Regions from separate parts of the Homo sapiens genome. Here regions 2, 3, 4, 5 and 6 are each linked to region 1. The links are contacts of gene promoters, found by promoter capture Hi-C in blood cells and fetal thymus (Javierre and others, 2016). All regions are on one chromosome and are shown on one strand. Each heading gives the region's core, a stretch centred on a gene start or on the middle of the fragment in contact. The rest is flanking DNA. Distances are from core to core; before and after follow the strand shown.

Region 1 (4,497 bases), core at 655-3,154:
ACAAAAACGAAGAAGAAATGCCTGAACTTTTGAAAGAATTAGGTATATACTGCTATTCAGGAAGCTATGGTGTTAATTATAAATTTTCAGCCTGAACAAAAATATGTAGGTGGTAAAAAAACTAGGTAGGTAGAATATACTAGGCCTTCTGTTTTATTAGTGGAGGGCAAGGCATTTAAAATACAGTAGTACTACAACAACAAAGGTGGAAAAAAGCCTGGGAGTTTTTTCACCAAAATGTTAACAGTGGCTATCTCCGGATGGTAGCATTCCTGGGGTTTTTTCCTTTTACTTATCTATTTTCTAATTTTTCTAGAAGAAACAGCATATACACGTAATACAAATAAAATAATATTTTATGTAACTTCTTACATCATAAAAATTAAAGTAACAGATTATCAAAAAGCAGAGGATTCAACATAAGCTTTATATTTAAGTGACGTGTTAACAATGGCAGTTTTGGTGAGTTTAAGAGTAGAAACTAAGATGAGAAGGAAGATCCGGTTTCTTCTTTACCGAAAAGAGACATGATAGATTGGAAAATGTCTCGTGGCTCAATCGTAAAGAAAAATAAGGAATGAATATGAATAATTTATGACAGACTAACTGGAGTGTGAAAGGGAAAAAAAAAGCTGAAGCAGGGAAGGGAACTCGACCCCTCGGCCAACAGTGAAGCAGAAGAAAACGCGGTAAATTGAGTCTTTAAGACCTAGTCTATTCCAGTCTATATAGAAGACCCCCAAGAAAAAGAAAGACTGCTCATTGGCCTGAGAAATTACCTTAGATTCATGACAAGGAAGGCCATTTGCCCGCAAAATTTAGCTACACTGGACGGGCAAGTACCCCTACAGAAGAGAAAACGTCTGTGAGCCCACACGACCGGCTGCTCACCTCAACAACTTGCACAGGCACCAGCTCCTTTCGCCGGCCGCCATCTTCCGCCGACCCCCGAACTCAGGAAACGCTTCACTTTCCTTTTCCCTATTGGCTCCTGAGAAAGCAAGCCGTGCTCGCCCCGCCCCCACGGGCCAATTGTGCGTTACTATTGGTTACTGGTAGCCGCTTCCCACGGCCTTCCAGCCAATAGAATATGCCGAGGCGTAGACTAGTGTTCGGCGTGGCGCACACGGCTCCCGCCCCCGTGGGCGGGACAGCAGTGGGGGGTTGGGCTGAGGAGGGCGTGGCCTGTGATTGACAGCCGTCGCTCCCTCCCTCGGCCACCTCCCCCACTAGAAGCCCCCGCCTGGGCGCCTGCGCCCCCGTTCCCGGCCCAAAGCCCGCCGCCCGTTGGAGGCCATTGGCTGGCCTTTGCGCACAGCGGATCGATTTTCCAGGTGCGGAGTTCACTCTTGCCGCGGTTGCTTCCTTTGGGACCCACGGCGTCCGGCAGCCAGGCGCAGAGTCCGAGGAGGGGGCAGCGCAGAGCGGACCCGACGCGGCGCCGCCGGGCACCTTCCCCGCAGGCGGTGGGTGAGCCCTGGGAGCTGAGTCTGCGGCCCGGCTCTGCGCAGCTCACCTGCCCTCCCGCTCCCGCACACGCGTGAGATCCCAGTACAGTGTCGGAGCGCACCAGCGCGAGGTGGCCGAGACCGCGGAGGAGGACAGGCCTCCGCCCTGCGGCGCCGGCACGGCAGAGGACATTGTGGCACTGGCACGGCAGAGAACACTGTGGCACCGGCGGGGCCGGCAGTTCCAGGGTGGGCACTCCCAGCCACCTGGGGAGTGGGCGAGGGTCCGAGGCCCACTCTCCCCTCACGCTCTCATCCCCGTGCCCCCAGGTCGGGAGGACGGCGGCGCGCAACTTTGAATCATCCGTGTGAAGAGGGCTGCGGCTTCCCCGGTCCCAAATGAAGGGGCGGTTCCCGGACCCCTGTTTGCTTTAGAGCCGAGCCGCGCCGATGCCCTCACACTCTGCGCCTCCTCTCCCGGGACTTTAACACCCCGCTCTCCTCCACCGACCAGGTGACCTTTTGCTCTGAGCCAGATCAGAGAAGAATTCGGTGTCCGTGCGGGACGATGCCTGAGCAGGAGAGACAGATCACAGCCAGAGAAGGGGCCAGTCGGAAAGTGAGTTTTGTTCCCCCGCGTCCGCGCAGCGTGCTCACTCCCACCAGGAGGATTTTCCTCCCCGCGTTCGGCGCTTACTCGCCCCCAGGGGGTGCGCAGGGAAGGCCGAGCCAGACCCCAGCTCCAGGGATGTCTTGGCGTGGGAGAAAAGGACCCTTTAGAAAAAGTGTGCCGTCAACTGATGTTTGGGAGCAATGGAAAACCCCGCACCTCAAAATTCATCTTTATGCTTTTAAGGGGTCTGATGCTGGAGAGATAAAGTGAGCGTCGAGTTGCTGTGCTAGAGCCCTAATGGCTCAAAACGATGAAGTTAGTTACCTGGAGAAGTTACTCAGAGCCTGGTGCTTGGACCAGATATGGTATATCGAGGTCCTGGAACTTTTATAACTGTTTTAAATTCATTTTAATTGTACAAGTAATACATTAAGACAGTCTTTTAAAAATGGAAACAGCACAGAAATATTTTGCACAAAAAGCAGATCTATTTTTCAGTCTTTTTCTATTCACGTACATATGTCTTCATTCGGCAAATATTTATTGAGAACTTTCTATGTTTCAGGCACACAGTGTTGAGTTGATACAGTGGTTAACAAGACATGTATCTATATGTAATATGCACACATTCAGAGAAATCTTTAGGTTTCATTTGTATGAGGTGTTAAAATTTTTGTTTTACCTAAATGAGATCACTGTATGTGCATTCTCTTTTTTCAGTTTAACGATATATCTTAGAGATTGTTTCACTAACTGTCTAATTCAGTGCAACCTCTGCACAGTTTGGACGCATCATAGTTTATTCATGGTTTCCTAGTGGTGGACGTTCTGTTTGCTACTTTTTTTCTCTCTCTCTTGCAAGTGAACATCTTTGTACATGATTTTTAATGCTGACACTATTTCTTTAGGATAGATACTTAGGCCTGGATTGCTGGACAGAACAGTAGGCTGTTTCTTTTCCACAGATTTCTGAAACTAATTCACTGACGTTGCTGGGTGCCCTTTAGTAGTGAATTCATCTAGGCTCCGGTGATACAGAAATGAAAACTAACGGATTAGTGGACAGACAGAGAGAGGCTGGTTAGTAGGTGGTTTGTAGGGTATGATGACTATGCATTTGATAGGAGTATGAAGAAATGTTGGGAGGGGTGGCTTGTACAGAGGAGATTTCAACTTCCTACAGTGTCCCCACCTAGAGAAAGAAATCATTATCCTTCCAAATCAAGCTCAAGACCTGCCACCTCCTTGAAACGTTCTGTAACTGCTCCTGCCCATGTTGACCTGTCTTCTGGAATCCTCTGATAATAGCGTTGACCAGCGTTATTGAGCTTACTGTGTGCTGGGCATTGTGTTAGGCACTCATATCCCTCTATGTGCACTCTCGCGTTTAATCCTCACAAAAACCCTTTGATGTAGGTATTATATCTTGTTATCAACATTTATTCAACAAATTTTTTTGTGTGTACTATGTGCTCAAACACATAGTACTCAAAGTTTTAGACACTGGGGATTTAGGTAGGACCGAGACCTTGCCCTCATGAATTTACATCCTAGTTGGAGATAGGAAAAAAAAAGGGATAAACAAATGTATAGCGTAGGAGTTAAGGGAAAACTTTTGTGCCCCGTGAAGCGTCACTGAAAAATCAACTGACAAATGGCAGATTAATAGGAGAGAAGGCATACACATTTACTAACGTGCCGTGAGAGTCTTACAACATAAGATCTCAAAGGAAGGCAAGGTGGTTGCCACAATTATACTATCCTGAGGTTACAGAAAGTGTGGGGGCTCTAAGCTTGGCCAAAAACAGGTTATGGTTGTAAATCAGGTTATAGGAGGGAGAGAAGAGGAGACCTGGCTAGCAAAGGTGGTCTTATGTAGATGAAACCTCACAGGTAGCAGCCCTCAGGGAGAAGAAATGTTTCAGACCTTGAAGGTGCCAAATTCAGCTAATCTCACCCAGATCCAGACAAGGAAGGGCCCTCTGAGAAAAACTGGCTGCGTCAATGGAGGTTCTCAACAGATGCTCATCTCCCTCACAGTAGGACTACTTTTGTCTGTAGGCCCTCTGAACGGCCATCTCAAAATATTTCCAATAAGTCTGTTTTGAGGTGAAATGTTTTAGTTTCCTTCAATAGCTTTATTTCAGGTACTAGTAAGTACTATGAAGAAAATAAAGCAGTTTGGGTCCAGGAGTTCAAGACCAGCCTGGCAGCATATCAAGACATCGTTTATACAAAAAAAAAAGAAAAATTAGCTGGGCATAATGGTGTGTGCCTGTCGAACCAGCTACTCGGGAGGCTGAGGCAGGAGGATGGCTTGAGCCCAGGAGTTTGAGGCTACAGTGAGTTGTGATCCCACCACTGCACTTCAGCCTGAGTGATAAAGCAAGATCCTGTCTCAAAAAAAAAGAAAAGAAAAGAAAGCAGAATAAGGGA
Region 2 (4,497 bases), core at 1,315-3,814, 2.8 Mb after region 1:
AGTACCAAAACTGTCAAATACAAAATTGTGTTCCTGCTATGACTGCAACTACCTGCAAAATTATGTGGATATTAACTAGTACAAAAAGGAAATCCAAGAGAAAAAAATAGTTTTTAAAAATGTTGCAGCTATAAATTCAGTTTCAATGATAATGTTTGTACAATAAATAACACTATAAAAGTGGAGTACAATATGCTCCCTTTCATTCTGTATTCTTCCCCCACACTATCATTGGTCTTGCTTTTTTGCAATGGCCATGATATCAGAAGAACTAATGAAATTATATACTTCTGCTTTATTGACATTAAATATACAAGTAATTGACAACCTACAATCATGTTCTAAATACTTGGTAAATCTCCCTTTTCGGAATTTAAAACACATTTTTCTCATATAAACAATGTTAAAAATGATAGTCAAGTTCCCAAGTTAACATGCAAAAGCCTCTTTCACCCAGATCACTGCCAGAGTAATCCTGAGGCTCTCCCTCCCCAAGTGCCTTGGAGTCCCAAGCCCTGTAGGTAAGAACAGAAGTAAAGGCCTACCCAAGACCATGGTGAGAGGGTTGTAGTCCTAGGACACATGGGTATGGGAGCACAGCTGGAAAGACACCAATGCAGTGAATAGGAGCTGGGCATGCTCCAGGACCAGGAGCTAAGAGTGATAACCTTTCATATAGCCAAGTCAATCCTAGTTCCAGGTTGCCTGGCTTTCTGAAGACATGGATGTTCTTTGTTTTGATGCCTTCTGTACTCATTTCTATGTGTTATAACTTTCCATTTAAAAGCCTTAAATAGACATGCGTATGAGTCAGATTTCTAAATAAGATCCCAAATAAAATATCTGAAACAAAAGACTTATTTATTTTCATTTAGAAAACTTCCATGGTGCCCACCAGATGAAGGAATGAGATGCCAGGAAAACTTAAGAGTTGTTGGCTTGGGAGAAAATGAGAGTCATAACCTTGATCTTTTGTTAAACATGATATAAAGTTGTATAAAATTTTGTTGCTAATATAGTTTTGAAATTTCCTTGGTAGTATTTTTTTTAACAAAATGCTAACTGAAAGCTTCATCTCAGTTTTCTCAGATCCACAGCTTTCTCTATATAGTATGAGGAAACAGTAGGGTGTGTATTATTTGCAAATAAACTTCAACAATTAGTTGGCCAATCAATTCCTTCCTAATAGAAACATAAATGTCATTTCTCACTAATTAAATACAACTTGTGCCTGTTGAAAAAAAAAACTTAATTTCAGCACAGGATGTGGTGTGTATATAAAAAAACAGAACTAAAACGAGATCACATCTGGATATTTACAAAAAAAAGAACGCCTTTTCAAAATTTGTATTCAATCTCTAATATGTCCAGTTTTTATACGTTTTTTTTTCTTTTTTTTTTCTTTTTTTTTCTGTCGCCAGGCTGGAGTGCAGTGGCGTGATCTCAGCTCAATGCAATCTCTGCCTCCTGGGTTCAAGTGTTTCTCCTGCCTCAGCCTCCTAAGTAGCTGGGACTACAGGCACGCACCACCACGCCCAGCTACTTTTTGTATTTTTGGCAGAGACGGGGTTTCACCATGTTGGCCAAGATGGTCTCGATCTCTTGACCTTGTGATCTGCCTGCCTCGGCCTCCCAAAGTGCTGGGATTACAGGCATGAGCCACTGCACCCGGCCTAAAAGTCTTAAACCTCTAAATATTTGTTTCTAATCTGGCTCTTCAAAATAAATTTTATCTGAAAACAAAACAAAACAAAACAAAAAAAACACAACACTACATAAAATCCCTAACAGCTTGGAAATCTACTTTCATAAAATAATACTAAACTATTAACAAGTAGAAGGAATAAAGGAATTTCAAAATTAATGAAGGAAATGAAGAGCTTTCTCAGCCGTTAATAACATGTAGAGCCAGAGTGGGGGGATGAGGGTGAGAAATATGGAATAACGATGTATAATATTTTAAATAATGTTTTACTATCTATAAAACACTTCACATAGGAATTGGGGGAGGAAACTACACCAAGAGATATCATTTTATTATGAGAAGCGAATATCCTCACATCCTGTTAAAATTCCTCAATGCAATTCCTATATTGATAAGATAAAATCTAAACTCCTTTGCAAGGCATACAATGCTTTTTATGATATGATTCCTGTCTACATTGTCAAGCTCCTTTCCAGTCTCTTCCCTCTACCTAACTTCACTTTCTGGCCTGAGGACCACAAATTCTCTCATTGCTCCAAGCTTTTCCATGTAGAGTTCCTTGGCTTGGGCAAAAGTCCACTAATCCTTCATGTCTCAGTGCAAATACGACCTTCTCTGTGAATCCTTCCTTCACTTCCCCATATAGAGCCTGGCTCCCAGTCTTGCCAACATCTCTGCTTATACTATGTACTCACTCCACCAATTCTGTTTTAATTGTTTAAATGCCTAGTGTTTCTACTCATTAGAAAATAAAGACCATGTTTTTTCTGCTTTGTGTCTCCAGTGCCAAGCACAAAACCTCATCCACAGTAAAATGAAAAGAGTAGGTGGTCTCCTAAGAGTACTGTGGGAATTTAAGGATTTATAGTCTTTCTCTGGAAAATCTAAAGCAACCTTTCAGCAGAATTATGGGCAAGTTGGAAACCTCAGCGAGTACATGCAGAATATAACTACAACTTTGTAAGAGTAAAAATAAAAAACCTCATGCTTAAGATTGGAAGCACCAAAATATTAACAGTAATGTTGTTAGAGTGGTGAGAAGCCATGTGTAATTTTCTGCCCCACCCCCCTCATTTTACCTCTGTTTTAAAAAAAGTCTTAAATGCTCAACTTAACCTAATACTATTTTCCAATGGCCGTGGCCCCCTATAAAAATTAATGCCAACACCCTAAGCTTCCAAAATTATCAAACAGAAATGATGAGAACCTAGCATCATGCCATTCCAAGCATGGAGGAAAATGAGAACCTAGCCCCTTGTTGCCCCAAGGGTAGGAGAAAGAAAAGACGCAGGATGTTTATACTTCCAATTCCAATATATTGGCTTTTATGATTATTCTTACTATACATTTCTGATTTTTTTTTTGAGATGGAGTCTTGCTCTGTCACCCAGGCTGGAGTGCAGTGGTGCAATCTCAGCTCACTGTAACCTCCAACGATTCGTTCAAGCGATTCTCATGCCTCAGCCTCCCGCGTAACTGGGACTACAGGCGGATACCACCACTCCTGGCTAATTTTTGTATGTTTAATAGAGATGGGGTTTCACTATGTTGCCCAGGCTGGTTTTGAACTCCTGACCTCAGGTGATCCACCCACCTCAGCCTCACAAAGTGCTAGGATTACAGGCGTGAGCCACTGCACACAGCCCATTTCTAATCTGTTTTGATCCTGTCTTTCAAGATCCAAAAAGAGACTACTTCCATCCAACATTAATCAATTAGCACTCATATAATGCTAGACTCTAAAGGGTATATGCTAGGTAAAATAAGACATGGTCTCTATCTCCAGGCAATTTATATATTTCTGTGGCAGAGGAGTAAACTACCTAGATAAAACACCAACAGTATATATAATTGGGGGAAATTATGTGGTATAGACAATAATCTTATTAGCCGAACTGACATATGAATACCATTAGTACCCGATAAACATGGTATTCTCAGAAAGTATTTTTAGAATGGAAGATGACTTATTACGGCTGGGAATTATAAAGTGTCATGTTAATCAATAAAGATATTTTTTAAATCTTAAGCCTTGTTAAGTTTGGTTTTAGGTATGACAGAAACTGGAGCAATAAACTCAGATTTTAAACCACTGCTTTTCTAAGGGGAAAAACTATGAAACAAATTATACCTGAGATTTTTGCCGCTGGGCTTCTGCTGGAAAGAGCTCCATCCAGAGGCTGAGCAGAGTGAAAAGGTTGACTTTAGAAAGCCTTGGTATCTGACCTACAAAAGAGACGACAAACACTTTAAACTTTGTTACTAATGGTGAAAAAGGGAGCCAATCTCAATGCCACTTAGGTGCTGCAGCCTAAGCCCAGCTGCTTTCGCAAGAGGCACAGAAAAAGATAGGGGACAAGAGAGTCAGAGGTATCTTAGCAGTAGACGCTTCAGCCTTAGTCGTGGCTACCTCCTTCTCCACTTAAAAAGTTGAGCCTTCTTTCTCCAGCCCTCACCCTGCAGGAAAAAACGGTACAGCTAATACACATAGCTGAGGGGGACAACCCAAAGCAAGCTGTGAAAAGTCTTCGCATCTGACGTCGTCGTGGTGCAAGCTTTTCTTTGGACTGTGATGGGGCGTTGCTAAAAGGAAAGCGATTAGAACACAACCCGAAAAATGCGCTGACCTTCGACGGTAAAGCAGTCGAAATACAGGAAAGCGTCACGTGCGGTTAATTTGGAAATCAAGGCAAAAGCGCCGTTTGGAAATGTTCAGGCTCTTTGACCTCAGAGGCCCCAGCTCTAGGTCCTGTGAGAAGTAGCTAACAGGGGTAAAAAGCGAGACTTCAAAA
Region 3 (4,497 bases), core at 616-3,115, 2.6 Mb after region 1:
TTCTACCAATTTATACTTCCACCTAAGCACACTCAGTAATAGTTTTATTTTTTTTTAGACATGAGGTCTATGTTGCCCAGGTTGGTCTTGAACTCTGGGCTCAAGTGATCTGCCAAAGTGCTGGGATTATAGATGTGAGCCACCCACCGCGCACGGCCATAGATTTTTTTTTTTTTTTTGAGACGGAGTCTCGCTCTGTCACCAGTGCAGTGAGAAGGGTGCAGTGGCGTGATCTCGGCTCACTGCAGCCTCTGCCTCCCGGGTTCAAGCGATTCTCCTGCCTCAGCCTCCCGAGAAGCTGGGATTACAGGGGCCCGCCACCACACGCCCGGCTAATTTTTGTGTTTTTAGTGGAGACGGGGTTTCACCACGTTGGCCAGGCTGGTCTTGAACTCCTGACCTCAGGTGATCCGCCCGCCTCAGCCTCCCAAAGTGTGGGGATTACAGGTGTGAGCCACCGCGCCCGGCCCATAGCTTTGTTTTTAAGCAGCTCTCACCAGCGTTCACACCTGAAAATTTGAAAACTGAACGTGCACAAGTAAAACATGTTTCCTGGAGAAAATCTGCAAAATACAATAAAGCATAAAGGAGAAAATTTAAACACCATCCCATCATCCAGAGACAACTGGTGTTAATATTTCAGAGAGTAAATGGGCTTAAAAAACTTTTTTCCCCTTCTCACTTTTTCATTTTGGTAGAAAAATAATTAAGCCAGTCTGCTTTGCTTCAATGTATGGTTCCTTTTCGTTTCTAAAACAGGCTTTAAAAACACGTTTACCATTTCCTCTCGGCTCCTTACGTTTTAATTGTAACGACAGAACCACGGGTTAAGTCACGCTTAAGAACCACGGGTTAGTCACGCTTCTAACTACTTCACGTGTTCTTATTTAATCCCCCTAACAGTCATGTGGGTTAAATTAGCAGCTCGTTTGCTGATGAGGAAGCTAAGGAATGCCATACCGTAAGTGGCAGACACGAAATAAGGAACCAGGCAGCATGGTTTCAGAGCCTATGCTTTGGTTACTCCATTTGACCTCTTCAAATTTACTCCTCTCCTTGGCCTCATGTGTTAGTATTTACAGAGCTCACTGCAGGTTTCCACATGCCAAAGAGCACAGTTAATTACATATCTTTCCTTACTTAATTACTTATTGGGCTGTGGCTGATAGCGAGTCAGAAGTGTTACTATCTAATCTGAACTCCATGATCTTGGATGAATGACTGAACTTGCTGTATTTAAGGGCTCGTGTAATCTTACCTGTGAAATGGGCTAGTGGTTTAACCTTCAAGTTCTGCTTCTGGGTTTTATACTGCTGTCCATTTCCTGCCGCCCCTTTGACAACCTCAGGTTCCCAGCAGCTTAGGAATCACCTCTCATTAAGGCTGCACCCTGAGACAGACAGGCTGAAATGGAGGTTGGAAACTCAGTGCGCCCGCGGCCCCTTCTGCAGCCAGGACTGCACTTGGGTGCCAGGAGAAGGGAGGCTGCAAGGGCTGGGGTCCAGCCCCTGCTCGGGCGGCCGAGGGCTCCGCGGCGTTTTCAGCTCCTCCAACCTCCCGGCTAGAGGAACTGTCGGGGGCCAGCCACGGCGGTGCCTTGGTTTCACCTGGCTCCGCTGCGTTTTCTACGCCGCCCGCCTGACCTGAGGAGTGAGCTCCGCCAGCTCCGTTGGCAAGGCTGGGTTCCTCCGCGGGTGGGGCTCTCCTCCGACGCCAAGCCGCCCAAACCTCCCGAGCGCAGGTGCCCTCTGGCCGGGAAGTACTTCACCATTTACTAGCCTTCATCTCAACCACAACAGTCCCGCCCTGCCTCTACCGGGGATGAGGGAAGGCGTAACCTCCGCCGGGGACCAGGCCGACCTACCTAAACCGATCACTACATGGGAGGAGTCGGACGCCGGCCGTCCCACCACCCAGCCAGGAGCCCATTGATTGGTCGCACTCCCCACTGGTTCACGCCTCAGAGACTCGGCGCACTTACCGCTGGCACCGCAGTGGCGCCCGAGCGCGCCGCCTCCCGATTGACTGCTAGCGCTCTCGGCTTGTCTCGCGCACTGTAGCTGAGCCAATGGAGTTACTCGTAGTCGAGAGGCCGGCATCACTGGAGTGGTGGCGCAGCTGTTTCCTCCGGTAGGTGTGAGGCTGCCATCTTGTGTGTGGCTGGGACTGGGCTTCTTGGGGGTTGAAAACATACATAGCGCCTGGCCGTAGTGGAGGGGTCCGGAGAGAACAATGGGGTAAAGGAGAGGCCTAAGGGAGGAGACCCAGCGCCTTCCTACTTGCGGAAAGGATGGGTTTCCTGGGCCTGAGTCTCATCCCTGGCTAGAGAGAGCGAGGAATGGTGGTGGTGGTGGTGGTGATGGTTGTGGTGGTGGTAATAGTAGGGATCCCAGGTTTTGGTTTGTTGATCATTGTGGGGGCTGGGCGGGGCCTTTGATGCCTTAACATTGGTTCCTGGGAGCTCTTTTAGTAATTTTTGTCTCGCAAAGATTCTGACCATCAACCCCCTTTGACAAAGGAGGCTAGCTGATGAACTGCCTGATTGAGAAAGGAGCAAAGCTAGTAGTGGAAGGGGAGTGCCTCTCTACTATCCTCAGGTTCAGAAGAGACCTCCTCTTCCGTCCTTTTCGAGGGAGCGGCTGCTAAACAGTTTGCTCTTCGCGGGGGTTACTTTACTAAGGCCATCCTTTGGTAATAGTGGGCGTCAAGTTCTGCGTTTGGGCAAAATTGTACATTAGCGGGCAGCCAAGCATTCCTGCAGCTGTCTTTTTTTTTTCTTTATTTTAAGCTAGAAAGTGGTGGTCTTGCAGAAACGGGGCGTGAAGGAAGAATTTTGTCAAATCTTGATTTCCCCGATAACGATATGTTGAAGATTATAAATCTCTGGGTCTGCCATGACATGCTTGGTCACTTCATGGAGCAGGAGGAGGCTTTGTTAGGGAAAGCACCTTAATTTCTGAGCTCTTTTTGGGGTAGGAGGAAGAAGACAGGACTTAACCTTGTTTCCCTCCTCCTTTTTTTTTTTTTTTTTTAGCATTGTTGTGGATGGCATTGCATTGTCTTTCATTTGAGGGGAAAATGTATTGGATCTGAAGACCAAGCTGATGAAAGGCTAATATTTTGTGGTAGATTTTAGCAGTTTGACTTGCATGAAAAGAAAGCCGATGTATTATTGCCTTCAGCTTAGATTTCAGTTATTCAAGATTAACTGATGAACAACCTAATCAACAATACATGATAAAGACATCTCGCATCAGGAATACCAAAAAACAAAACAAACAGCAAAATAATTGATGTTTTTTTTTTTTTTTTTTTTTTTTTTTTTTTTGAGATGGAGTCTCTTGTCGCCTATGCTGGAGTGCAATGGTGCAATCTCGGCTCACTGCAACTCTGCCTCCGTGGTTCAAGCGATTCTCCTGCCTCAGCCTCCTGAGTAGCTGGGACTACAGACACCGGCCATCACGCCCAGCTAATTTTTGTATTTTTAGTAGAGATGGGGTTTCACCATGTTGGCCAGGCTGGTCTTGAACTCCTGACTTTAGATGATCTGCCCGCCTCCACCTCCCAAAGTGCTGGGATTACAGGTGTGAGCCACGGCACCTGGCCTGAGAATCATTTTTCTTAATTACTTGATTCCATGCTTGTATCTTCCACTTGACTTGTATCTTCCAGTTGGCTTGTCAAAATGCATGGAGAAACAAAAGTTCATATACCTTTTGACCTTTTCTAAGAAACTTGTAAGGAAATAGAGATAGAATCAAAGCTTTATAATCACAGTGTAATTTTGTTCTTGTGAAAAATTGGAAATAACAAATATCTAATGGTAGAAGAATGGTTTTATAAATTATGACACATCCCATCATTATATTTTTCAGCCTTTTAAAAGGAACGTTTTCAAAGAGTAGTGGCATAGGCTGTTGAATGACATAGGAAAGTGGTTACCATTTTGTGTTAAATGAAAGAAGTATAGAATAGTCATTGGGAAAATGCAAATTAAAACCACCGTCATTGGAAAAATGCAAATTAAAACCACAGTGAGATACTACACAACCTCTTACTCAGAATGTCAAAACAAACAATACATTTCCTGGCAAGGATGCAAAACAAGGAGAAACCTTAGTCTTGCTGGTGAGACTGCAAATAGTACAGCCACCTAGAAGACAATTTGACAGTTTATTATAAAATTAATCATATCCTTATCACATGATCTGGCAAGCCCACTCTAGATTGAAATTTACCACCAAGATAAGAGAGTTCCAGTAGTTTTTCATCCTTGTCAGCACTTGGCATTATCAGTTAAAATATTTAGCCTTTATATGAGGTATGATGGGGTATCTCATTGTGGTTTTAATTTCCCCTTTGATGATTGTATGCTTCTCTGATGAAAAGTGAAATGAAAACCTATATTGGCTGCTCTGCAAATATTTATAGCGATTTTATTTGTAATGGCCAAAACTGGAAACAACCAGATTCCACTAGGAAATAGATTTTTTTAAA
Region 4 (4,497 bases), core at 1,181-3,680, 2.5 Mb after region 1:
GACGCCTGGGCCATGACTGTGCTGCAGCTGCGGGTGGCGGCCGGATAGCGAGATCCCGGAAGTGCCCCAGCTGCACTAGGTTTCGTTTTCTTAAATCTGGGCTGTCGCTTTGAGTCACTAGCCGGCCCGGGGAAAGTTGGGTGTGCAGAGAGGGGTTGTCACACACACTGCTCCAGATTCCAGTCTAGTCTTAATTTGAATAGCTTAAAAAACCCAAACGCCGGGAGCAGTGGCTCACGCCTGTAATCCCAGCACTTTGGGAGGCCGAGGAGGGCGGATCACGAGGTCAGGAGTTCAACACCAGCCTAACCAACATGGTGAAACCCCGTCTCTACTAAAAATACAAAAATTAGCTGGGCATGGTGGCGGGTGCCTGTAATCCCAGCTACTCCAGACACTGAGGCATGAGAATCGCTTGAATCGGGAGGCGGGGCTTGCAGTGAGCCGAGATCGCGCCACTACACTCCAGCCTGGGCTACAGAGCGGGACTCCGTCTCAAAACAAACAAACAAACAAACACACACAAAAAACAAACAAACAAAAAAACCCCAAACGCCAGGCTTCCCTACTCCACCCCCCACAACACAGCGGGAGAAACAATCACTCTCCTGAGGGTTCCTCCTAAAAACTATCATACTGGCCGGGTGGGCGCGGTGGCTCACGCCTGTAGTTCCAGGACTTTGGGAGGCCGAGGTGGGCGAATCACGAGGTCAGGAGTTCGAGACCAGCCTGGTCAACATGGTGAAACCCCGTCTCTACTAAAAATACAAAAATTAGCCGGGCTTGGTGGCGGGCGCCTGTAATCCCAGCTACTCGGGAGTCTGAGGCAGGAGAATCGCTTGAACCCGGGAGGCGGGGGTTGCAGTGAGCCAAGATCGCGCCACTGCACTCCTGCCTAGGCGACAGAGCCAGACTCCCTCTCAAAAAAAAAAAAAAAAAAAAAAAAATTATCATACCGAGTTTGGCTTAAATAAGCATATCTTAAAAGGACGCAGAATTAGCCGATCCTAAATCCAGTTGCCAGTAGCAAGCCTTTATTTAGCACCCATAGGGTACAGAGCACCATACAAGATGAGGTTTTCAGTGAATCTAACATAAATGCATATAATTATAGTTAAAAAATAAGTTGTTCTGGAAAAAAGACATATAATAGTTGGTGGTTTGCTGAGGAATTAAAGGAAAACTGGAGGTCTTCCACTTTCAGCAGGTTGTAAAGAGGAAGACTGCCAACTAGGGATAGCAGAAGAGAGAACATTAAAAAGGACAATTTGTATAGTCTTGACAACTATGAAATGAATTGCAGAAGAGTGTGGGGTCTGCAAAACAGGGAAGTGAGCAGACAGACCCTAGCAGCCAATTTTTAAATTTTTTTTTGCCCTCCATGCAGGAGGATGAAAGAGTATTTCTTGCCAGGCCAAAATGAAAGGCCCTTTATAAAGAGACTGACATTAGGGTGTTCCCCAGCAAGATAGCTCAGGTAGGTCATAGTAAAACAAAGAGCCCTTTACCACACTCTCAGCTTATAGTAAGCTTTTTGGTGTTCCACACTTAAATATGAGTAGACTACCAAGACCATTAACTCTGAGGAAAGCCTATAATGTGAACGACCAAAACAAACATACAGGGGAAACAAAGAAACAAACCCTGGAGGACACAGATTATGCCGAAAGAATACAGAGATGCATGCCTGTATGTGTATGTATACGTGTGTGCATATACATACATAAACACACAAACATCTTCAAGGAGATAAAATACTGCAACCATGAGCCAAAATAGGATGCTATTAAAAAAAAAGAATATTCGGAGAAGGGGAGCTCTTAGAAATTAAAAATATGAGACAATATGAGACTAGAAAAATAAAATGCAACAGATGAACTGGAAGATTAAATTGAGAAATGCTCCTAGGAAAAGGTCCTAGCAAGAAGACAGAGCTGAAAGTTAAGAGAAAAGATAGGAAAATTAGAGATCAAATTCTGGAGGTCTAACATCTGGAAAACAGGAATTCCAGAAACAGTGAAGAGATGGGAAATCATTAGTTTCAGACGGAATGATCCCACCAGGCACCTAGTACAAAGGATGAAAATGGACTCTTAACAGGGACAGAACATTGAGACAAAGATAAACCTATAAGCTTCAAGAGAGATAAAAATGGATTATATATGCAAAAGAGAAGGAACAGAATGGCATTCAATTTCCAGTAGTCACCCTGGAAGCCAGAAGACAGATTTTCAGACTCCACAGCAACAGCACTGAAAGCTAGCAGATGTCTTCAAAACTGGGCATGGAGACCACTAAAGAATCCTATACCTTGCCAACCAAAACAGCAATCAGGTATAAGGGTAAAATAAAGACATTGTCAAACACACAGAGATTCAAAACATTTACTTTTCATTTTTCCTTTCCAAAAGCTATTGGAAGAGCTTTACCAATATGTGGAAGAGTAAACCAAGGAAAAGGAAAATAATGGCATCTAACTGGAAACAGATCCCACATAAGAGACAAAGTGAATCTCTGGGGTACTGATGGAAGATGATGGCTATGAACCAGTCCAGACTAAAGCAAATCAAGATTTTAGGAGAAATTTCTCCAAGAAGATAAAACTGACAGAATACCTCATATTTCTAAAGGTCAAATGGACTCCACAGGCAGAGCTCAAAGAAATACTGGCTGATCCATAATATTCCCTTTTGCACAAAAATGGTTCCCATACTGATCAAGCTTTTTTCCCCCATTTCATTTTAGTGCATTGCCTGAAATTCCTGCGTCTCTATGGTGAATAAATGGATTTCTCAACTTTCTTCATCTGTAGGTTGCTGGGCTATGTTTTGCTCCTTTTCCTAGCTGTCTGGTTTCCCAGTCTGCTTGGGCTTCCCAGTCCCCTTTTCCACTAGATAGATGATCACGGCCAAGTAACCTATGGCAAAGTGCTTACTCTTTGCCTTTTTTCTGTAAAAAAAAAAGATTTGCAAATCATGCCCAGGAGATACCAAGGGGCTGTTTCAGATTTCATAGTTCAGAATTGTTTTCGTGTGTGTGTGTGTGTGCTGTTTTTTTTGAGAGAGAGTCTTGCTCTATTGCCCAGGCTGGAAGTACTATGGTGAAATTATGTCTCATTGCAGCCTTGACCTTCTGAGCTCAAATGATCCTCCCACCTCACTCCTGAGTAGCTGAGACTACGGGCACATGCCATCATGCCAGGCTAATTTTTGTATTTTTTGTAGAGACAGGGTTTTGACATGTTGCCCAAGCTGGTCTTGAACCCCTAGGCTCAAGTAATCCACCTGCCTCGGCCTCTCAAAGTGCTGGGATTACAGGTCTGAGCCACCATACCTGGACTTCTTGTGTTTTTTAAGTGAAATTTTTGCCCAGTACAATTACTTCTGGCCTAAATAAGCAACGTGTGACTACTTTCTAGGTTTCCTTTTCAGTAACTGTATCTCTATCTAGAACAAAAATATTCAAGTTCCTCCAGGTTTCTATTCCCTCTTCTCCTATCTGTTTGTATAGAAAGAGTAGAGAAAATCTGTGGGAAAGAAGACTCATTTCAAAGAGCTTGCCAGAATCTTACTTACAGAAGAGCTTCTCCCTCTCCCCACTCAAATGGTTGATGGGACAGTGTTTTATCGATCCAGATATTGCTTCTCCAACAAGTGTTAAAATACTTGGGAGTAATATGCATAAAATTAGATCCTCAGGCGCTGTTGCCCACCTTGTAGCTCATAATGGTAAATTATTTGCCAGGAATTAAAAATCAATTTTGTAGGTAAAAATGTGAAATTTAGCTCTTTGGGGGGGCATGAACTAAAAGGTAACAGTCACAAAAGCAATTAGAAACAGCTGAGTTCTGTTATGACATTTGTTTCTCTTAATATATAATTTGTAAATAAATTATAAATTGTACAGTGGTATTTCATATAAAATATACACTTCCATCCTACTCATGTAAAGTAGCACAGCAGTGAACAAGATACCCTATGTGTATGAAAATATCCTAATTGTGTTCCTGGAATTTCTAAGTCACACAAATAAAATCTGAAATAAAACATAAACCCCATGACAAAGGAAAACGGAGGGGAATTTCCTTGATGGACCTAGACCTTCTTTTGCATGGCTTTAATTTCAGCCTGATAAGCTAATTTCACAAACAGGCGTTAGTTACATATTTATAATATTTTTTTTCTACATTTATTAACCCCACATTGGCAGAAGATTTCCTTCTCAGGCACAGTCCCAGCTTCATAGCCATAATCCCATGTTAGCTCTGTTCTTGCTTTCACATACCTAGAAAGTAGAAATTTGAAAAGAATCATAAAATACCCTAAATAACTACCAATGAACCAAATTATATCAATTTTCATATTAACATTAACCATCCTCAAAAATATGATCTGTTCTCTCACCCAACATCCACCAATTAGGAATGACCTTTTATTAAGAATAACCATTTGAGTTTTATTTCAAATCTACTAAAATGTTAAGTAAGAAGGAACCTAT
Region 5 (4,497 bases), core at 820-3,319, 2.2 Mb after region 1:
TCATACTCCTGCAACTGCTGGCATTTGGAGCGAGCTGAAGGTGGACAATAGTTTGCCATCTATTGTGTTCAGGCTTCGGAAAAGAGGTTGCTCCGACCTCCGCTCATAGGACTTGTTTTCTTAGCCTTTCTTGGAGTGGGGTGTGCATAGGGTGATAATTTCTTTGACACGTTTTACTAAAATAAATTGGATACACAGGTTCATAATTCTCTTACATACCTCTTGCTCCAAGCTAGTAGAATTTCCAAGTGGTTGCAAAACTAAACATTCATCGCGGTCACTCAGTTAGTTGCTACTCAGCATGTTGCCATTGTCTCATTAAGGTGACATTAGCAGGTACTATTTGCAAACTCGGCTTATTGAGGCAGCGCTAGAGGTCTCTCTGCAGCTACTGAAAACAGTAAGTATAATGCACAAACTTCACTGGGACCGTGACCTTTGGATTTGTTAGGGGGAAAATGGTTTTAAGGCCGCAGCCTTCTTTGCTAATACTAGGCGACATGATTTGCAGTTTTGTAATTTTTGATAAGCTAGTGTGATTAAGAGGTGTGTTTTATCCTGTCTTAAGGAAGGTTGTGGGGTAAATATACCATTCAGTGTTCTATTTTGTAGAGAAACAGACAAACTCAGGCCGTTTTTCAGAGCTACAAAATTAAATACTAGTAGGAAAGAACCTAGGGAGATATCCGTGGAATTCCCATTTAAATGAGTCAAATAAAGATCATATATTCTTTCCTGGTCATGGTTAAATACCCTTTGTAAGAAATACATCTAAGCGAAAGTAAAACTTGGGAATAGGAACAAGAAATTTTGGAACTGCCTCCTGTTATTGGTCCACTTGATGACAAGTGTTAATTTTGAACTTTTCCCATTAGGAATTTTTCTTGAAGCCTATCCTGTTCCAAATAAAAATTTATTGAAAAATACTCATTGTTTGTACAGAAAAACCAGTAACATTCTTCTCTCGGATATTGGTACAGGTTTTTGTTTCATTGTTTACCTCTATTGTGTTCTGGTAGCTCAGTGATACTTAGTAAGGACTCCTGCACATAATAGGTACACAACAAATATTTGCTGATAAGAATGTAACCCGTGACTTTTAGATGCATGAAAAAGAGCATGGTTGCTAAGCCATTCAGCCTGGTATTGGTCACAACATTACATTTCTCGGGATTCTATAGTGTAACTAAAACATGAAATAGACATTCAAATGGTAGTTCTAATGTGGCAGACACTGTTACGAGCTTCATGATACCTTATTTAATCTGTGTAACAAGTATATGAAGTGTGGCATTATCCCCACTTTACATGAGTAAAGTATTTTTTGAGACGGAGTCTTGCTCCTTTACCCAAGTTGGAGTGCTCAGGCACTCATAGCTCAGCTGCAAGCTCAAACTTCTAGGTTCAAGGAATCTTCCCACCATGGCCTCCCAAGTAGCTGGGACTACAGGCGGACACCACCACACCTGGCTAATTTTTTAATCTTTTTTAGAGACGGGGTCTCGCTTTGTTGCCCAAGCTTGTCTTGAACTCCTGGGCTCCAGTGATTCTCCCGCCTCGGCCTTCCAAAGTGTTCGAACTACAGATGCTAGTCGTCACACCCAGCTGGAACTTTAGATAAAAAACCTCAGTGTGCTTATGTAGCCTGTGCATGTCACTCAGTGGATATGGGTATTATTTATTCACTAATTGTCTATTGGGTATCTATCAATGTTAGGTCTTGGGGATAAGGAATAAGATGCAGTCTGTACTTCAGGGAGTTTACAGTCCAGTGGGGGTGATAATTACAATGCAGAACAACAATTGTTACAGTATAGTATTCCGAAAATGCATGCCAAAAAAACTACTTGGAGGTGAGCAGAAAGGGAAGATACTCTGGTTGATTTCTAATGGATGAATGGGAGTGAGCTGATTGTGAAGGATGAAAGAAAGGTGGCCAGGCAAAGGGCGGGAGAAGGCTGGTGGAAGAAAGGGGCATTCCAGACTAGAGGGAGCAGTAATTGAAGAGTCCTGAGAGAAATGTAGGAGAGAGAGAGACTAAAGGGTAAACTGGGGTCAAATCTGATGAAGGGCCTTTATTGGGGATTTAGGCATATCTAAGAGTAGATAACCATGCTTAGTCTTGTCCATTAGAAACAGTACAACTTAGCTCTGTAACTGAGTAGTTGTGGTTATCAGGCTGTTCCAAAACAGTGAGATGCACTTTGATAAGCTATGATGCCTATTTTTTCACATATAGGATAGACAAAAACTAAAACATGTTATAAATTATAGAAGCAGCTGATACACAAGATGTTAGGTGCAAGAATAAGATCCATACTTGTTAAAGAAAATAAAAGGATAGAGTTATGCCAGGGGATTTGAGTAGAGAGAGGGTTGAGGAAGAAAATTTCTTTGTCATTCAATCGAGAGAGACTTTAAGAGATCTTTGGAGAGGAAAAAAAAAATGAGGTTAGTGAATCTTATAGGAAATATGTACCAAACTTAAAAGGGGCATGTTAACTGGTGAATAAATATCCAGGTAAAAAAGAAGAGTGATTATATTAAAGAGAGGAGACTTCCAGGTGGCCTGTGTTGATGCAAGAATATCTTGTGGCAAAGAGTTGCTTGGAAGCTTTTTCTTAATAGGGAGATGTGAAGGAATTTATTCCAGAGCAAAGAGGAGATGTAACATGATTAGAGCAATGGAAAGGGTGACAGGGCAGTAATACCTAGAATTCATTTTGGAGAAATAGCGCTGTTGTCTGATCTGCAAAGAAGAGTTTTCCAAAAAATTGAGACTGGGAATGGCTACAACCTGGAATGAGGATTTGATGATGCTGTTCTTCCTCCCTCTTCCTCCTCCTTCAAATTCTCTTTATAAAGATCACTGAAGAGAAAGGGAGTAAAGGTTATTCTGAGGTTTATAAATGGAGGAAGGGAGGGAGTAATTATCATCACTGATAGAAATTTGGAGCTTGGGTAGGGGATGCATTTTGTAGCAAAAACTAGGAAGTACATATTGAAAGGGAAACATTTCCTTTTATTTGTTCTGGAATGTGCTTTTTTTTTTTAAAAAAAAAAAAAAAAAAAAAGAGGGTCTGGCTCTGTCGCCAAGGGTGGAGTGCAGTGGCCCAATCTCGGCTCACTATAACCTTCGCCTCCTCCCAGGCTCAAGCCGTCCTTCCATCTCAGCCTCTTGAGTAGCTGGGACTACAGGCACATGCCACCACACCTGGCTAATTTTTGTGTTTTTTGTAGAGACGGGGTTTTGCCATGTTGCCCAGGCTGGTTTCAAACTGCTAGCTCAAGTTATCCTCCTGCCTTGGCCTCTAAAAGTGTTGGGATTAGGGGCATGAGTCACCATGCCCGGTCCTGGAATGTGCATTTTAATGCTAGACCTTTTCATGTAAGGCATTGATTCTTAAAAACTTTTCCTGTTTTCAAAGATAACTTATAGAAAAGTGTGCAAAACAGAAATGTTCTGTTTAATGAATAATTACAAAACAAATGCTCAGGTAACTGCAATCCAGGTCAACTCATTTTCTTGCTGCTGTATACCTCAAGGGTGTGACATTTTCATTAGTAACAGTAATTAATTATTTTAAAAACCTTAACATTTATTGTTTACAGTATATCAGTGCTAAGTACTTTATATAGATTATCTATTTAATCTTCACAACAGTCCTATATCAAGTAAGTACTATTATTATCCCCATTTACTGCTGAGGCAACTTGAGGCCTACAACCCTTAAGTAAGTGGCCTTAAGTCTTCCATCGGGTGTTAAGTGGCAAAGCCTGGACTTACAATATATCAAAGCTTTATGCTAAGCGGCTGGGCGCAATGGCTAACGCCTGTAATCCCAGCACTTTGGGAGGCCGAGGCAGGTGGATCACCCGAGGTCAGGAGTTCGAGACCAGCCTGGCCAACATGGTGAAACCCCGTCTCTACTAAAAATACAAAAATTAGCCGGGCATGGTGGCGCGTGCCTGTAGTCCCAGCTACACGGGAGGCTGAGGCAGGAGAATGGCGTGAACCCGGGAGGCGGAGCTTGCAGTGAGTCAAGATCGCACCACTGCACTCCAGCCTGGGCGACAGAGCGAAACTCCGTCTCAAAAAAAAAAAAAAAATACAAAAATTAGCCGGTCCTGGTGGCTCATGCCTGTAATCCCAGCTACAAGGGAGGCTGAGGCGAGAGAATCACTTGAACCGGGGAGGCAGAGGTTACAATGAGCTGTGGTCATGCCACTGCACTCAAGTCTGGGCGACAGAGTGAAACTCTGTCTCAAAAACAAACAAATAAAGCTTGATGCTAAAGCTAGAACTCTTGCTTACTGTGCTGTACTCCACCGAAGGGAGTCTAAGACTTGACATGTACAAACCACGCCTGAAAGTTAGTGAATGGGGAAAATATTGAAGAAATATCGACTATATCACAGAAATTGCTATTTCTATACTTTAAAACCTTGCAAATTTTTGATGAACTTTACTATTAGATTTATTTGCCTTTTTATCTT
Region 6 (4,497 bases), core at 1,127-3,626, 2.1 Mb after region 1:
TTGGTTTATGACAGTCTGCTTTATTTTCCATGGAAGGTAAGCAGAATAAGGTACAGTTCTAGGTTGAAAGTTTTTGGTAAATCACATTTTCTATTCTCTGAGACCTTTTTTATGTAGCACTTGCTATTGCTTTTTCTTCATTTTAAATATTAAAAAAATTGTTCTATTTTTATTTCTTTTGTACCTTTTTCAAATTCCTTTATTTTACCCCAGCTTCTTTTTCTTCCTAATGCCAAGTCTCTGCATTTTCCAAGTCTCCAACCTGGTTTACCTGTCTTAGCAATTAAAAGTACTATGTTGACCAGGCTGGTCTCAAACTCCTGACTTCAGGTGATTCGCCCTCCTCAGCCTCCCAAAGTGCGTTTCTACTAAAAATACAAAAATTAGCTGGTTGTGGTGGCGGGCGTCGGTAATCCCAGCTACTCAGGAGGCTGAGGCAGAAGAATCGATTGATCCCAGGAGACAGAGGCTGCAGTGAACTGAGATCGCACCATTGCACTCCAGCCTGGGCGACAAGAGTAAGACTCTGTCTCAAAAAAAAAAAAAAAGTACTAAACAGGCCAGGCAGGGTGGCTCATGCCTATAATCCCAGCGCTTCGGGAGGCCAAGGTGAGTGGATCCCTTGAGCCTAGGAGTTCAAGACCAGCCTGGGCAACATGGTGAAACCCCATCTCTATAAAAAACACAAAAAATTAGCCAGGCGTGGTGGTGCCACTGCACTCCAGTCTGGGCAACAGAGTGAGACCCTGTCTCAAAAAAAGAAAAAGAAGAAAAAAAGTACTAAATATCGTTTTTTTTTTCCGGTAGAGACAGCCTGTTAAGGACAAACCTGCAAAATATTAATATTCAAAGGCACCGCTAAGAGAACCAACTAATGGCAGTCTGTTGCAGTTACAAGGTTGACGTTATTTTCCTTATTTATTTTTGGTTGTTCAATCTAGGTAATATAACTTATAATTCAGGAAATCCAGATTAAATGAGCACAATTCATGCCAAGTAAATTTAAATGTCAGTCTCTGAGGAAAGGGGATAGAAGGAGACAAATACAAATTAGGAATGTATATTCATTTTTTATTTTTTTATTTTTTTTTTGAGATAGAGTCTTGCTCTGTCACCCAGGCTGGAGTGCAATGGCACGATCTTGGTTCACTGCAACCTCCGCCTCTGGGTTCAAGCGATTCTCCTGCCTCAGCCTCCCAAGTAGCTGGGATTACAGGCACACACTGCCATGCCCGGCTAATTTTTTTGTTTGTTTTTAGTAGAGACAGGGTTTCACCATGTTGCCCAGGCTGGTTTCGAACTCCTGAGCTCAGGCAGTCCATATCCCTCGGCCTCCCAAAGTGCTGGGATTACAGGCGTGAACCACCGCACCAGACCTAGGAATGTATTTTTAAATGTAACACCCTAGGAGGCAGTTTGCAGAGTGGTTAAGAACACAGACCCTAGAGCCAGAATGTCTGTTTGAATTTAGCTTCATCCTTCATTGACTGTGCAACTTTTGAGTACATTTCTTATTTTTTCTTCAGCTTCCTCATCTGTAAAGTGGAGGATAGTTTTTCCCTCACATGGTTGTTACAAAGACTAAATTAGTTTATTTTTAAAAAACACTTAGAACAGTGCCTGGCAATAATAAGCACTACATAAATGTCAATCACTATTAGTTACTCAAAATTATAATAATGAATTGGTCAAGGCTCCAGAAATATGTCAGTTTTTAGAAAAATGAGTTTTTGTTAATGTTTCTGATTTTTAAAAAGATCACAAATGTGGTTTGGATTAGTCTAAGGAAAAATGTTTTGTTTAATAACTGATTAATGAGTTTTTAAAAACTCATTTCGTATGACCCAGTACAGAATGGGAAATTCACTAACAGAAGACGTCCAGCTGGCATAAAAAACATTAAAGAAAATCTTAAGCATAATGCTAATCTCAACTCTGAAACACAAGCTTTACATTATTGTTCTCAGTTCTCGAGTTCCTGGCATGTCTTGGAAGCAGACAGACTCTTTTTTTGAAGTAGTCATTCTTTCTTATTGCTTATGACTTAGATAAATGACCTTGAGAAACTATTTTTGGCTTTATTTGTGATTGTTATTTAAAGCGATAGCTGTGAAAGAGTGTCAAAACATCTTTAACGTTGTGCTTTTCAAAAAGAGAGGATAATTCCTTTGAAAGTAATAATGAATGGATATTAGAATCCCAGATATTAGAAGGAAAAGTGAGCTCATGGATGGTGTTAATCTGCCAAGACAGGGAAGTCTGTTTCAGGAGCTAACCAGTTTTGCTAACTTCATTCTGCTGAGCACACTCGAGTTGCTAGGATGGGGGCAAAGTGCACCGGGCAGCGCCCCAGCAAATTACTTTTCCAGCTAGGAAAGACTATGGCCCTTCTGCCTCTCTATAGTAATGTCCAATTCACGGCCATTTAGTGTCTGGCTTTTCATTGAAGATGTGACTGACTTGAATGGCCTAAATGTTTATTACATATATAATACATGTACTTCTTTTAATAATATTTCTGAACAAAATTTTTACTTTATAACAACTAATTCTATTATATTTTGTCTATACATGCATTATGGCAGCTTATATCCAATGTGGAGATAAATGAAACACACAAAAAAGGGCAAATCTGCATTTTGAACTGAGAGCATGTTTAAGAGGATTATAGCATTAATTATAAGAGAAAGAATTTGAGAGGCAGTGTTAAAGCAAACTAAATATGGCCTGAGAAGGACTCTGTACTTCTGTATTTGAGTCCTTGTGTACGAACTGTAACCTAGGTTAATAGGCAGACAAGCTTGAAAACCTAATTTAGGAGTATGCACCTGTAACAATAGCTGAGTCTTGGCCAATCCCAGCGGCCATACTTCAACCAGTCATACACTGCTGATTGTTCAAACTGTGTTCAAATAAGGCAAACGCCCCCCTGTAACCAATGCAGCTGTTTCTGTATCTCACTGCTGATTTCTGTACGTCACTTCCCTCTTTTTGTCTAAAAATTTGTTCTGACCACGAGGCATCCCTGGAGTCTCTCTGAATCTGCTGTGATTCTGGGGGCTGCCCAGTCATTCACTGCTCAGTTTAACTCCTTTAAATTTAGTTCAGCTGAAGTTTTTCTTCTAACAGGAATCAGACTGGTAAGCCTTGAATCCTACCTGTTTATCTCCTGCTCACCTGAAGTTGTAAAGTTTAGTACCTCTAGGCCTATTTCTTCACCTATAAAATGGGGACAATACTGACCTTGAAATCTTGAAATAATTCAACTAGATATATATATATGAACGGTAGAAAAATTTTGTCTCTCCAATATTCTGTTAAAATTCTCACCCCCTGCCCCGCCCCCAGCACTTCCCTGGGGTTAAAAAAAAAAAAAAAAAAAAAAATCAAAGCACTTAATTCCCAGCATAACGATGAAGGTTTGTCATAAAAGAAAATTTCTTGTGTGAAATGATTACCAAGAAAGTACTGCATACGCAATGGGGGAAAAGACCAACCCTCAATCAGTTTAATAATCACCTTGGTTATTAAATTCTATGGTAACTTAATTTCAACGTACAAAACTTTCCCTTAGTATTGTAATGAAAACACCATTTATAGAAAGAGAACCAGGAACCTGAAAAATTCCCCTCATTGCATAGATAGAAATCCTCCTTAAAAAACATTTATAACTCGGGTCACTAAAAGTTACGTATGGGAAATCATTATTTAAGTAGTGGGCATTTTATGTCCAGTTTCCCAGGACTTGATGATCCATCCCTAGGGAAGCCTTCAGGATGAAACTGATCTGGGAACAGAGGTTTGAGCTAGGTTAATTCTAGAGGTCGTCCCAGACATTTCCAGATGCCAAGCGGTATCTTTTTTTTTTTTTTTTTTTTTTTGGAGACAGAGTCTCTGTTGCCCAGGCTGGAGGGCAGTGGCGCGATCTAGGCTCACTGTAACCTCCGCCTCCCGGGTTTAAGCGATTCTCGTGCCACAACCTCCTGAGTGGCTGGGATTACAGGCGTGCACCACCGCACCCAGCTAATTTTTGTATTTTTAGTAGAGACGGGGTTTCACCATGTTGGCCATCCTGGTCTTGAACTCCTGACCTCAGGTGATCCGCCCACCTCAGCCTCCCAAAGTGCTGGGATTACAGGCGTGAGCCACTGCACCCGGCCTGAAGATGTAAAATCTACCACGGAAGGATGATCTAAGTGGGGAAGGAGATGACAGGTGACAGCCTCCCGTGTGGAAGCAGAAAGTAGCGGACGGTAGGAGCCGAAGGCTTCCCTCGGGACCCAGCAGACTTCCCGCAGCCTCCTGGGTTCCCGTCACATTCCTCGGAACCCTCAGTGCACCAGACAGGGGGAGCTTGGAAGAGGCAGGTCAAGAATCGCCCCCGACCCCGCCCCAGCGTTCTGCTCCCAGGGCGGCCTCCCACGCGCCCCGGACCACGCAGCCCGATGGGCCAGGTAGGGCGCGTCTCTGCACCGAAAATGCATTAGGGCCCGCGTG

Evidence for each region. Contacts are between HindIII fragments. The CHiCAGO score rates a contact against its expected background, and 5 or more counts as called.
Region 2: a contact is called between a fragment that was not itself captured here and the fragment with the promoter of ATP7B in region 1, in 1 of 17 cell types (fetal thymus). The highest score is 5.1, in fetal thymus.
Region 3: a fragment that was not itself captured here is called in contact with the fragment with the promoter of ATP7B in region 1 in 1 of 17 cell types (fetal thymus); the score reaches 9.8 in fetal thymus.
Region 4: a fragment that was not itself captured here is called in contact with the fragment with the promoter of ATP7B in region 1 in 1 of 17 cell types (fetal thymus); the score reaches 6.9 in fetal thymus.
Region 5: a fragment that was not itself captured here is called in contact with the fragment with the promoter of ATP7B in region 1 in 3 of 17 cell types (naive CD4 T cells, total CD8 T cells and fetal thymus); the score reaches 6.7 in naive CD4 T cells.
Region 6: a fragment that was not itself captured here is called in contact with the fragment with the promoter of ATP7B in region 1 in 1 of 17 cell types (non-activated CD4 T cells); the score reaches 5.5 in non-activated CD4 T cells.

What each region holds. Positions count from the first base shown.
Region 1 is chr13:52,008,857-52,013,353 of GRCh38, reverse strand. It overlaps ATP7B (ATPase copper transporting beta), which reads left to right and starts at 1,904. Exons shown (of 21, transcript NM_000053.4): 1 at 1,904-2,067. The coding sequence starts at 2,017. ALG11 (ALG11 alpha-1,2-mannosyltransferase) reads right to left here and starts at 956. Exons shown (of 4, transcript NM_001004127.3): 1 at 892-956. The coding sequence starts at 935. RefSeq lists enhancers at 698-787, 838-967 and silencers at 1,088-1,187, 1,198-1,307, 1,358-1,697. The HindIII fragment of the contact is 3,430 bases long and covers 427-3,856 here.
Region 2 is chr13:49,248,305-49,252,801 of GRCh38, reverse strand. CDADC1 (cytidine and dCMP deaminase domain containing 1) reads right to left here. Exons shown (of 10, transcript NM_030911.4): 2 at 3,837-3,931. Among named protein-coding and RNA genes, the nearest start is that of CDADC1, 2.6 kb to the right of the region's middle. RefSeq lists an enhancer at 4,454-4,497. The HindIII fragment of the contact is 634 bases long and covers 2,248-2,881 here.
Region 3 is chr13:49,441,619-49,446,115 of GRCh38, reverse strand. It overlaps CAB39L (calcium binding protein 39 like), which reads left to right and starts at 2,052. Exons shown (of 11, transcript NM_001079670.3): 1 at 2,052-2,130. SETDB2-PHF11 (SETDB2-PHF11 readthrough) reads right to left here and starts at 1,842. Exons shown (of 21, transcript NR_135324.2): 1 at 1,259-1,842. It overlaps SETDB2 (SET domain bifurcated histone lysine methyltransferase 2), which reads right to left and starts at 1,842. Exons shown (of 14, transcript NM_001160308.3): 1 at 1,259-1,842. RefSeq lists enhancers at 689-1,462, 2,145-2,224, 1,463-2,235, 2,605-2,674 and silencers at 1,935-1,984, 1,656-2,136. The HindIII fragment of the contact is 3,801 bases long and covers 1-3,765 here.
Region 4 is chr13:49,491,519-49,496,015 of GRCh38, reverse strand. All of the region lies in intron 12 of SETDB2-PHF11 (SETDB2-PHF11 readthrough), which reads right to left. It overlaps SETDB2 (SET domain bifurcated histone lysine methyltransferase 2), which reads right to left. Exons shown (of 14, transcript NM_001160308.3): 14 at 1,013-4,284. The coding sequence ends at 4,167. It overlaps PHF11 (PHD finger protein 11), which reads right to left and starts at 63. Exons shown (of 10, transcript NM_001040443.3): 1 at 1-63. The coding sequence starts at 14. RefSeq lists a silencer at 1 and enhancers at 22-261, 572-1,257. The HindIII fragment of the contact is 587 bases long and covers 2,137-2,723 here.
Region 5 is chr13:49,787,295-49,791,791 of GRCh38, reverse strand. All of the region lies in intron 1 of KPNA3 (karyopherin subunit alpha 3), which reads left to right. Among named protein-coding and RNA genes, the nearest start is that of KPNA3, 3.1 kb to the left of the region's middle. RefSeq lists enhancers at 1-71, 76-595. The HindIII fragment of the contact is 1,095 bases long and covers 1,522-2,616 here.
Region 6 is chr13:49,936,942-49,941,438 of GRCh38, reverse strand. No RefSeq gene overlaps it. Among named protein-coding and RNA genes, the nearest start is that of SPRYD7, 2.8 kb to the right of the region's middle. RefSeq lists an enhancer at 4,119-4,168. The HindIII fragment of the contact is 853 bases long and covers 1,950-2,802 here.